3 separate regions of the Homo sapiens genome follow, and regions 1 and 3 are each linked to region 2. The links are contacts of gene promoters, found by promoter capture Hi-C in blood cells and fetal thymus (Javierre and others, 2016). All regions are on one chromosome and are shown on one strand. The core of a region is centred on a gene start or on the middle of the fragment in contact, and the rest is flanking DNA. Distances in the headings are between cores, read along the strand shown. Region 1 holds the start of DNAI4 (dynein axonemal intermediate chain 4). Region 2 holds the start of ANKRD13C (ankyrin repeat domain 13C). Region 3 overlaps TYW3 (tRNA-yW synthesizing protein 3 homolog).

Region 1 (2,764 bases), core at 220-2,719, 3.4 Mb after region 2:
GCGGAGAGCAAGCCAGGCGCGTTCTGCGGCAGCCCCTCCCCGGAAGTTAAGGGTCTTCCGGGCGGTACACTGCCGTGGGGGAGGGGAAGGAGAGAAAGGGGACTGAGGACACCTCAGGAGCCCCTCATCCCAAACTGGAATAGAAGGGGAGAGATGGCTTGTGGAGGCTGCACTTACAGCCGCTGCCGCTGCTGCCGCCGCCACCTTCGCTGCTGCCGCCACCGCCTGAAGAAGCCCCATCCATCCGCCTGCAGCCGGGAGACTCAGAGCCTGGGAGGGGCCTGAGGCCCGGGCCGCCCGCCTCCTTCTTCCAGTCGTCGTCCGGAGCTTCCTCCAGCTCCACCAACCCTCTGCCCTCCCCTCCGCCTCCGCCCTCCTCCTCGGCCTCGTGCCGCCAGCCAACCGCGCGGCCGCTTGTTGAGCCAGGGCTCCACCGTCGCCATGACGCCCGGCAAACATTCCGGAGCCTCGGCCCGAGCCGCTAACGGAGGAGCTTGGGGGTACAGGGACTTCAGAGGCGGCCAAAAAAAGGGGTGGTGCACCACTCCCCAGCTGGTCGCCACCATGCCAGTCTCTCCGGCAGGCAGTCACAAGCAGCAGAACTTCGGGTTGTAAGTTCCGGCGCTAAAAACCGTAGTCCATCCCCCTGGGACCCGGAGGGAGCCCTTCTATTAATAGATACCATTTCTGGATTTGGAAAGGGGCCCTACCCTAACTGGGTTCAGTCTGTAGACCTTGAAGCTCCTAGGCCACAATGTCTCCTTTATCGACCTACCGCAGTCTTTAAAAGAATCTCTACTGGGCTGGGCGCGGTGGCTCACACCTGTAATCCCGGCACTTTGGGAGGCCGAGTGGGGTGGATCACCTGAGGTCAGAAGTTAGCGTCCAGGCTGGCCAACATGGTGAAACCCCGTCTGTACTAAAAATACAAAAAGTTAGCCGGACGTGGTGGCACATGCCTGTAATCCCAGCTACTTGGGAGGCTGAGGCAGGAGAATCCCTTGAACCCGGAAGGCGGAGGTTGCAGTAAGCCGAGATCGTGCCGTTGCACTCGAGCCTGAGCAACAGAGCGAGACTCTGTCTAAAAAATAAGATAAAATAAATCTCTATTGCTGTGCTTGCTGTGTGAGAAAAGACCTGGTTTAGAACCATCGTTCTAGCACTTCTAGTTTGTTAAGGCCTGCAGTCTCTCAAGCTTGATGCTTTCATGCTGTGCCCAGACGTTCAAGAGCCTCAGCTTCTGTGAGCCACCAGGCCGAACATTGCTGTGCTCTGTAGTAGAGGTATTTTATTGTCGTCTCGTCAATACCATCTTACTTTAAAACTAATTCCTGCTTCCAACATTCTGTTGTTATGCAGCAGTTGAACAAGACTGTAGAAAAGCACACAGCTGTGTGGACTTGTCTTACTTTAAATGGTTCCTTAGCGCTGCCCGTAATGCTGCCCACTAAGTTCCCCCAAAATTCCCTAAGTAATTTGTTTTCTCTTCCCCTCTCCAATCTCCTCCACCTCAGCTAATCTTTCTTCAGCGGAACTTGTTGAGAGTTCTTGGGAGAGAACCTTGCATTCTCTCTTGAATATGGTACTCACGCTTTTGTCCATCCTACCACTCCATCAAAACAGCTTCTATGAAAGCCAGCAATAGCCATGCAACCAAATACAATGGCTGATCCACAGTTTCATTCTTTTTGAATGAAGCAGTGTCGGTCGGGTTTATCGCTTCTCGATCTTTGAAAAGCTTTATTTGGGTTCTGAGAAACCACTCTTCCTAGTTCTTGTCTTGGTTCATGGTTTCACCTTTCCCAGATCCTTTGCTGGTATCTGTTCCTCACTACCATAACTAAATACAGTCATGCATCGATGGTGATACCTTCTGAGAAATACCTTGTTAGCCAATTTCAGCATTTTGCAAATATCTTCTAGTGTACTTACACAAACGTAGATGTATGGGCTACTATACACCTAGGCTACAATTGTATAGTAGACTGTACACCTAAGCTATAGTAGGCTATACATCTAGGTTTGTGTAAGTACACTAAATGGTGTTTGCATAATGATGAAAATGCATTTGTTGCTTCTAGGCTACCAACCTGCATAGCATGTTACTGTACTGAATACTGTAGGCAATTGTAACACAATGCTAAGTATTTGTGTATGTAAACATAGAAAAGGTAATGTCTTGTGCTTGAATGTTGTGACAACTACAACGTTGTTAGACAATAGGAATTTTTCAGCTCTGCTACCAGATCACCATTGTATATGTGATTCATTGTTGATGATCCAGGACTGTATTGGTATTGCTGGGTTAGTCCATAAACCTCTTCACTCTGATGTCTTTAATATCACCTATAATGATGATTCACAAATGTTAATCTCTGGCTAAGACCTCTCCCAAGAAAACAGATTTTAAGAAAAAACACCTGCACTTATAAGTTAATAAACATCTCAAACCAAATATATAATATTTTCTGTCTTTTCTAATTAACTGCAATCTTTCTCATTTTAGTAAATGGCAAATTCCACTCTTTCACTTACTCAGGGGAAAAACCTTGGGATTACCCTTGACTTCTATCTTATACCTCACTCTATAAGCAAATTTTACCATTTCTACCTGCCAAATAAATCCAGACTACCACTCCCATGTAAATCACTGTGTTACATTGTGATACCCACCTAAATAGTCTCCTTGCCAACACCCTCCAGGTAGTAATCAATGTGGTTCTGCTCAAAACATTTCTCAAGTTTTTTCCATTTCACTCAGTAA
Region 2 (2,763 bases), core at 182-2,681:
TGTTGATTGGGTAATGTTTTAACATAAACGGAACTCTCCACTCCACCGAAAAAGAAAGAAGAGGAAGAAACAGATTTATCTGAACAGACTGAGAAGAAAATTGGAGGTGAAAAGTTGAGTGACTGGGGAGGATTAAGAGAGGCCCATCGAGTTGTTTGTTTGCGGAGATGAGTTAGCAGTAGTATAAACTTTAAGAAAGAAGAGATCTGGCCGGGCGCAGTGGCTCATGCCTGTAATCCCAGCACTTTGGGAGGCTGAGGCTGGCGGATCACTGAGGTCAGGGGTTCAAGACCAGCCTGGCCAACACGGTGAAACCCCGTCTCTACTAAAAATACAACAATTAGCTTGGTGTGGTGGCGCAGGCCTATAATCCCAGCTACTCTGGAGGCTGAGGCAGGAGAATCGCTTGGACCTGGGAGGTGGAGGTCGCAGTGAGCCGAGATTGCACCACTGCACTCTAGCCTGGACTACAGAGACTCTGTCAAAAAAACAAAAAAACAAAAAAAAGAGAGAGAGATCTGAAGTATTTGCTCTCAGAACATAGGGGGACTTTGGAGAGTTAAATGGGTGAAGATCTTTAGGATGTTTTGCTAAGCCCCCTCCTTACGTCCTCAGTGGCCAGCTTTAGTTACTTTGTTAAAGTTTTATGGTTGGCAGATTTACGTTTCTTCAGAGTTTGACACTAGGTTGAGGTTGGCCATGAACTAATACAATTATATTTCAGTTACACGATTCTTTGCCCTCCTTGAGTGTCCCCACCCTCATATATGTTAACTCTGACATCTGCCCGAAATTCATTCATCTAATAAATATTTGAGTGGCCTCCCCTCTTTCCGATTGCTGGACAGCCCATCATTTTCCAAAGTCAGCACCTAAACTCTTCTATGACTTTCCTGACAACTCAACACTAAAATTCGTCCCTCCCTTTTTTGTGTGCAACCCACCTCCCCGCCTCCGCTTTTAATTGTTTGGCCTTCATTCCTCTTCTACAGTGCTCCCTGCAATCAGTACTGGTGCTGTACATATTTGCTAGCTTCGTACATACGGCACGAAGTAGATGCTCAGTAAATGTTGGTTGACTGAGTATCCTCTGCATCTCGGTGACATCACATCCTGCGTGCCGTGGCGTCATTCTGCATTCCTCTGCGGGAGGCTCAGATCCGGAGGGTTTAAGTGGTTGTTTATAACATGCACCGAACATATCCAACGGAGGCTGTGGTTTCCGACCGCCCACAAAAAGCGCGGTTGGCGGGAGTGCGGGTTCGGGGTCGGCTGGCAGCTGGGAGACTCCAGCTCTGGGCGGAAACACACTGCCTCGGAGGCGCCGGCGCCTAGTGATTCTGGGAATAGAAGGTGCGAGGGAGGGAGCGGGTGGCTCACTTATCGCGGTGTTTTCTCTCTCTTCACTCCTGGGGGAGCTCTCGCGAGAGGAGCAAGAGGAAGATGGCCGTGCCCTGTTTTTCGGTGTAAGGCAGCGACGGCGGCTGCGACGGCGAGACTGAGATCCTGGTGTCGTGGGCACCTGAGTTCTAGCTTCCCCCAGCGAGCGCGCGTCCCTTCGTGCCTAGGCGAGAGCCGGCTCTTCCCCGGGAGATGCGTTTGTCCCAGGCTCGGGGGCTCAGTGGGAGTTCATGCTGCGCTGGAGGCTCTTGGCCACCGCTCTAATCGCCTTGTGCCGCCGCAGCGCCAGCTCCGTCGCCAGCGGTGAGCCTCCCGATTCCCCCCCTTGCCCCTGGCGGCGGCGATGACCGGGGAGAAGATCCGCTCACTGCGGAGGGACCACAAGCCCAGCAAAGAAGAAGGGGACCTGCTGGAGCCCGGGGATGAGGAAGCGGCGGCTGCCCTCGGCGGTACCTTTACCAGAAGCAGGATTGGCAAGGGCGGCAAAGCTTGTCATAAGATCTTCAGTAACCATCACCACCGGCTACAGCTGAAGGCAGCTCCGGCCTCCTCCAATCCCCCCGGCGCCCCGGCTCTGCCGCTGCACAATTCCTCCGTGACTGCCAACTCCCAGTCCCCGGCCCTTCTGGCCGGCACCAACCCCGTTGCTGTCGTCGCGGATGGAGGCAGTTGCCCCGCACACTACCCGGTGCACGAGTGCGTCTTCAAGGGGGATGTGAGGAGACTCTCCTCTCTCATCCGCACGCACAATATCGGGCAGAAAGATAATCACGGTGAGGAGTGCTAGCCCCTCTCCACCTCTCTCCTTCCCCGAGCCTAGGGTGTGCCTCCCCAGGCTTCTGGAATCCTAGGCCCCCTCCAGCAGACTCTTCTTTTTGCCCATCATCCGGGCCGTTCGGTAAATCATGATCGACTCAGTAATAGCGTGCCAGTGGTCAAGGGGTTGGTTCTTGTGGGTGCAAAGGAATGTATCCTCCTTGCCCACTTCAAAGTTTGTCGTGAGAAGCTGTTTTGTTTGAGACAGGCCTTCGATTTGCTGATTCTGGACTGTCAGAAATTTTAGGTTGCCTCCCACCCAACATGGTTTTCTCCCTTTGTTTATGGAGCTATATATCTTTATTTCTCTCTCTTCCCCCTACCTTGGCATTTTAAATTTTGAACGCATAAATTGCCCTCCTCCCTTCATTGCTCACATACAGATCCCATCTTGACTGCAACTGGTTGTGATTTTGCCTGCCACCAGGTTGTTTCTTTTTTGTCTGCTTTCAGTAAACTTAGAATGTTAGATTTCTGAAAGCCACACAGTAGAAATTTGTTGGTATTTGATACGTAGAACAGTTAAAGTGACTTCTCAACAGCCGA
Region 3 (2,786 bases), core at 108-2,607, 4.4 Mb before region 2:
AAATCAGCAAGACCACGAACCCACTGGGAGGAACAAACAACTCTGGACATGCCACCTTTAAGAGCTGTAACACTCACTGCGAAGGTCTGCAGCTTCACTCCTGAAGTCAGCAAGACCACGAACCCACTGGAAGGAAGAAACTCCGGACACATCTGAACATCTGAAGGAACAAACTCCGGACATACCATCTTTAAGAACTGTCACACTCACTGCGAGGGTCCACGGCTTCATTCTTGAAGTCAGCGAGACCAATAACCCACTGGAAGGAACCAATTCTGGACACACTTCAACTTCAGCACACCCCATCTGGATAAAGGCGACTACCATACAGCTAGGGGCTCCAGCCAGACCTAAGTAGTTATCCTTGATTCCTCTTTCTCCTCCTCCCTCTGGCTGTCCTTCCCCAGACAACCTTACAATTCTGTTGATTCAAATGCTGAAATACATATTGAATCTATTCCTTTCTCACCTGCTTTGGTGCTATCACCTTACACCAACCTATCACCACAAACTACTCCTAACTCGTATCTTTTCACTTACTGCACTCCTTTCTCTATGCTGAAGCAGAACTGAGTTTTTCAGAACAAAAACCTAGAAAGCCACTCTTTGCTTAAAACTGTCCCTTCAATAACTTTTCCCTGAACTCAGAAAGAAATTCAAACTCTTTAATCTGGTCTACAAAGCCTTAAATGACCTGGCCCCAGCCTCCTTCTGGCACCTTCTTTCCACTCTCTAGACCCACTGAAACTTTGTATATACTTTTCCATCTTCATGGAATGTTCATTTCCCAGCTACATGCCTAGCTCTTTCTGTTCCTTTAAGTCTTAGCTTAAAGAAAGCTTTTCAGAGAAGCCTATCTTCAAGTGAGCTGCTTTTTGCACTGTTCTCTATTACCAGGTTGTTTTTTCCTTCGGTAGAACATTTTGCAACTTGCAGTTTGTTTTTTGTTTTTTTGCCAGTTCACTTGTTTGTTTTTGCTGTCTCCTAACTTTGGAAGAGGAACCAAGACAGTCTTTAATCTTGTTCATCACTGTGCCCCTAGTACTTGACACACTGAGACTCAATACATTATTGTTGCTTAAAATGCAATTCAGTTTTATATATAAATATATAAAAGGTATAAAAAGGAGAATCAAGACTAAACAGATGTTTACCTCATGCATGCTCATTTAAATGGGAAAAATGAAATATTCTTTAAAACTCTTAATTTTACATGTAGTTCCACAGTATTTTTTCTTAAAGCTTGGCAAACAAAAACAAACTATAGAATGCTGAAGTAAAATTTATAAATAAAAACGTTAAGAAAGAAAACAGGAAGCATAACCTGGGACTTATATTTTCCTAGCAATGATTAGCTACTCTTTTTTTCTAATATTAAAAATTAATAGATTGAGCAGACCAATAAATAATATATACATAACTAGTTGAATAAGGTAATATCTCATTGATATTTATAGCAGGTTAAAAGCTTAAAATTACATCTACCCACATATCTATAAATTCAAGTACAATTACAACAAAATTTTACCAGAATCTGTGCATCCTGCAATTGTCGACACTGCACATGAAGAACAAATGGTTCAAATTTCAAAGTGGCATCACCATTTGCTTTCTTCAGAGCTACAATCTAAATAAATGAACAGTGGTATCAGATGCAAGTATATGGCCTGTCCTTTGGCGACCCTTTACCCCATACATAACTTCAATTTCTCTTAGAAATTTTCAGAATCACTCAGCATATTTTTTCTGCAGTAACTTTTCCCTCTGCTTTCTTGGTCCTTTTTCACCAAAAATTTATTTGCTTATTTTCTTAAAATTTCTAGTTCTCCCGTAAATCTTCTATACCATTCTTTCCACCTATTAGTGTGCTTTGAAGAAGTAAACTACTACTTTATTTAATTCCATAACGGATTTTTCATTAGGAAATGTAGTATACAAAAACTGTATTAGGATTGTTTAAATTTTTTGTTAGATTGAGATAGAGACAAATGTAATGTGAGAGAAGGGTCCAAACAAAGCCTAACTGCCACCCATGTTCCCAAGAAGCATCCTGTACCAAGCACCAGTGCTTACCAGCAGCACTAGTAAGCTCACAAATAGCAGTGCATGCAAAGAGCTCAGAGCACAGCCAGTGAGTTCCTGTTCCCTCTGTAACAGGCACAGTTGTTGTAACAATTGCAACTTGCAGTTTTTTTGTTTGTTTTTTTTTCCCTGTTCACTTGTTTGTTTTTGCTATCTCCTAACTTTGGGAGAGGAACCTTGGAACTGCTCAGCTACATGAGAACCAATGGCCCCTGAGCACGTTCCTAGCTTTCTGTATTTCAGACCCTATGGGGCAGTGTTCAGGGTCTGGGAGCTACTGCAGCACAAAGTGGGGTACATGCCATCACTCTGCCCTGATCAGCTGTGGAACCAATCTGCTAGCCATGGGGACTGACACATTGCAAAGGGCTAGATCTTGTGTAGTCTCTTCCCTCCTGCTATAAGCAAATGTTACAACACTTGAGCCTAGTATGCGTGTTTTTTGTTAGTGACCTTGAGTCAGGTACTAGTCTCTTCCCTAGGTAGCACTTGCCTGCCTTTTAACCTTGGCTGCACCCATGTTACAGTGTATCCTGCGGCGTAGTCTGACCACCTAGTGAAACATGTAATATTGTGTCTGAGCTAGAATTTATACAAGACAGTTATTATTTCTGTCTGCCCAGCATCCCCGGGCAACATCGTCCTGCCTTCACACCATTTGATTTCTGGTGGGGCTGTCAATCATTACCCTGTCACACATCACT

The links. The method cuts DNA at HindIII sites, captures the fragments that hold promoters and counts their contacts. A CHiCAGO score of 5 or more calls a contact.
Region 1: a fragment that was not itself captured here is called in contact with the fragment with the promoter of ANKRD13C in region 2 in 1 of 17 cell types (total B cells); the score reaches 5.3 in total B cells.
Region 3: a contact is called between a fragment that was not itself captured here and the fragment with the promoter of ANKRD13C in region 2, in 2 of 17 cell types (total B cells and total CD8 T cells). The highest score is 8.9, in total B cells.

Annotation. Positions count from the first base shown.
Region 1 is chr1:66,922,509-66,925,272 of GRCh38, reverse strand. DNAI4 (dynein axonemal intermediate chain 4) reads left to right here and starts at 417. Exons shown (of 17, transcript NM_024763.5): 1 at 417-611. The coding sequence starts at 442. MIER1 (MIER1 transcriptional regulator) reads right to left here and starts at 283. Exons shown (of 14, transcript NM_001077700.3): 1 at 178-283. The coding sequence starts at 244. RefSeq lists enhancers at 1-264, 555-714 and a silencer at 295-414. The HindIII fragment of the contact is 543 bases long and covers 1,198-1,740 here.
Region 2 is chr1:70,353,390-70,356,152 of GRCh38, reverse strand. ANKRD13C (ankyrin repeat domain 13C) reads left to right here and starts at 1,431. Exons shown (of 13, transcript NM_030816.5): 1 at 1,431-2,174. The coding sequence starts at 1,745. It overlaps ANKRD13C-DT (ANKRD13C divergent transcript), which reads right to left and starts at 1,342. Exons shown (of 4, transcript NR_168352.1): 1 at 945-1,342. RefSeq lists enhancers at 1,052-1,111, 1,212-1,271, 1,322-1,511, 1,542-1,601, 729-1,646 and 3 more. The HindIII fragment of the contact is 4,699 bases long and covers 1-1,891 here.
Region 3 is chr1:74,737,531-74,740,316 of GRCh38, reverse strand. It overlaps TYW3 (tRNA-yW synthesizing protein 3 homolog), which reads right to left. Exons shown (of 6, transcript NM_138467.3): 3 at 1,529-1,627. Among named protein-coding and RNA genes, the nearest start is that of TYW3, 5.8 kb to the right of the region's middle. The HindIII fragment of the contact is 226 bases long and covers 1,245-1,470 here.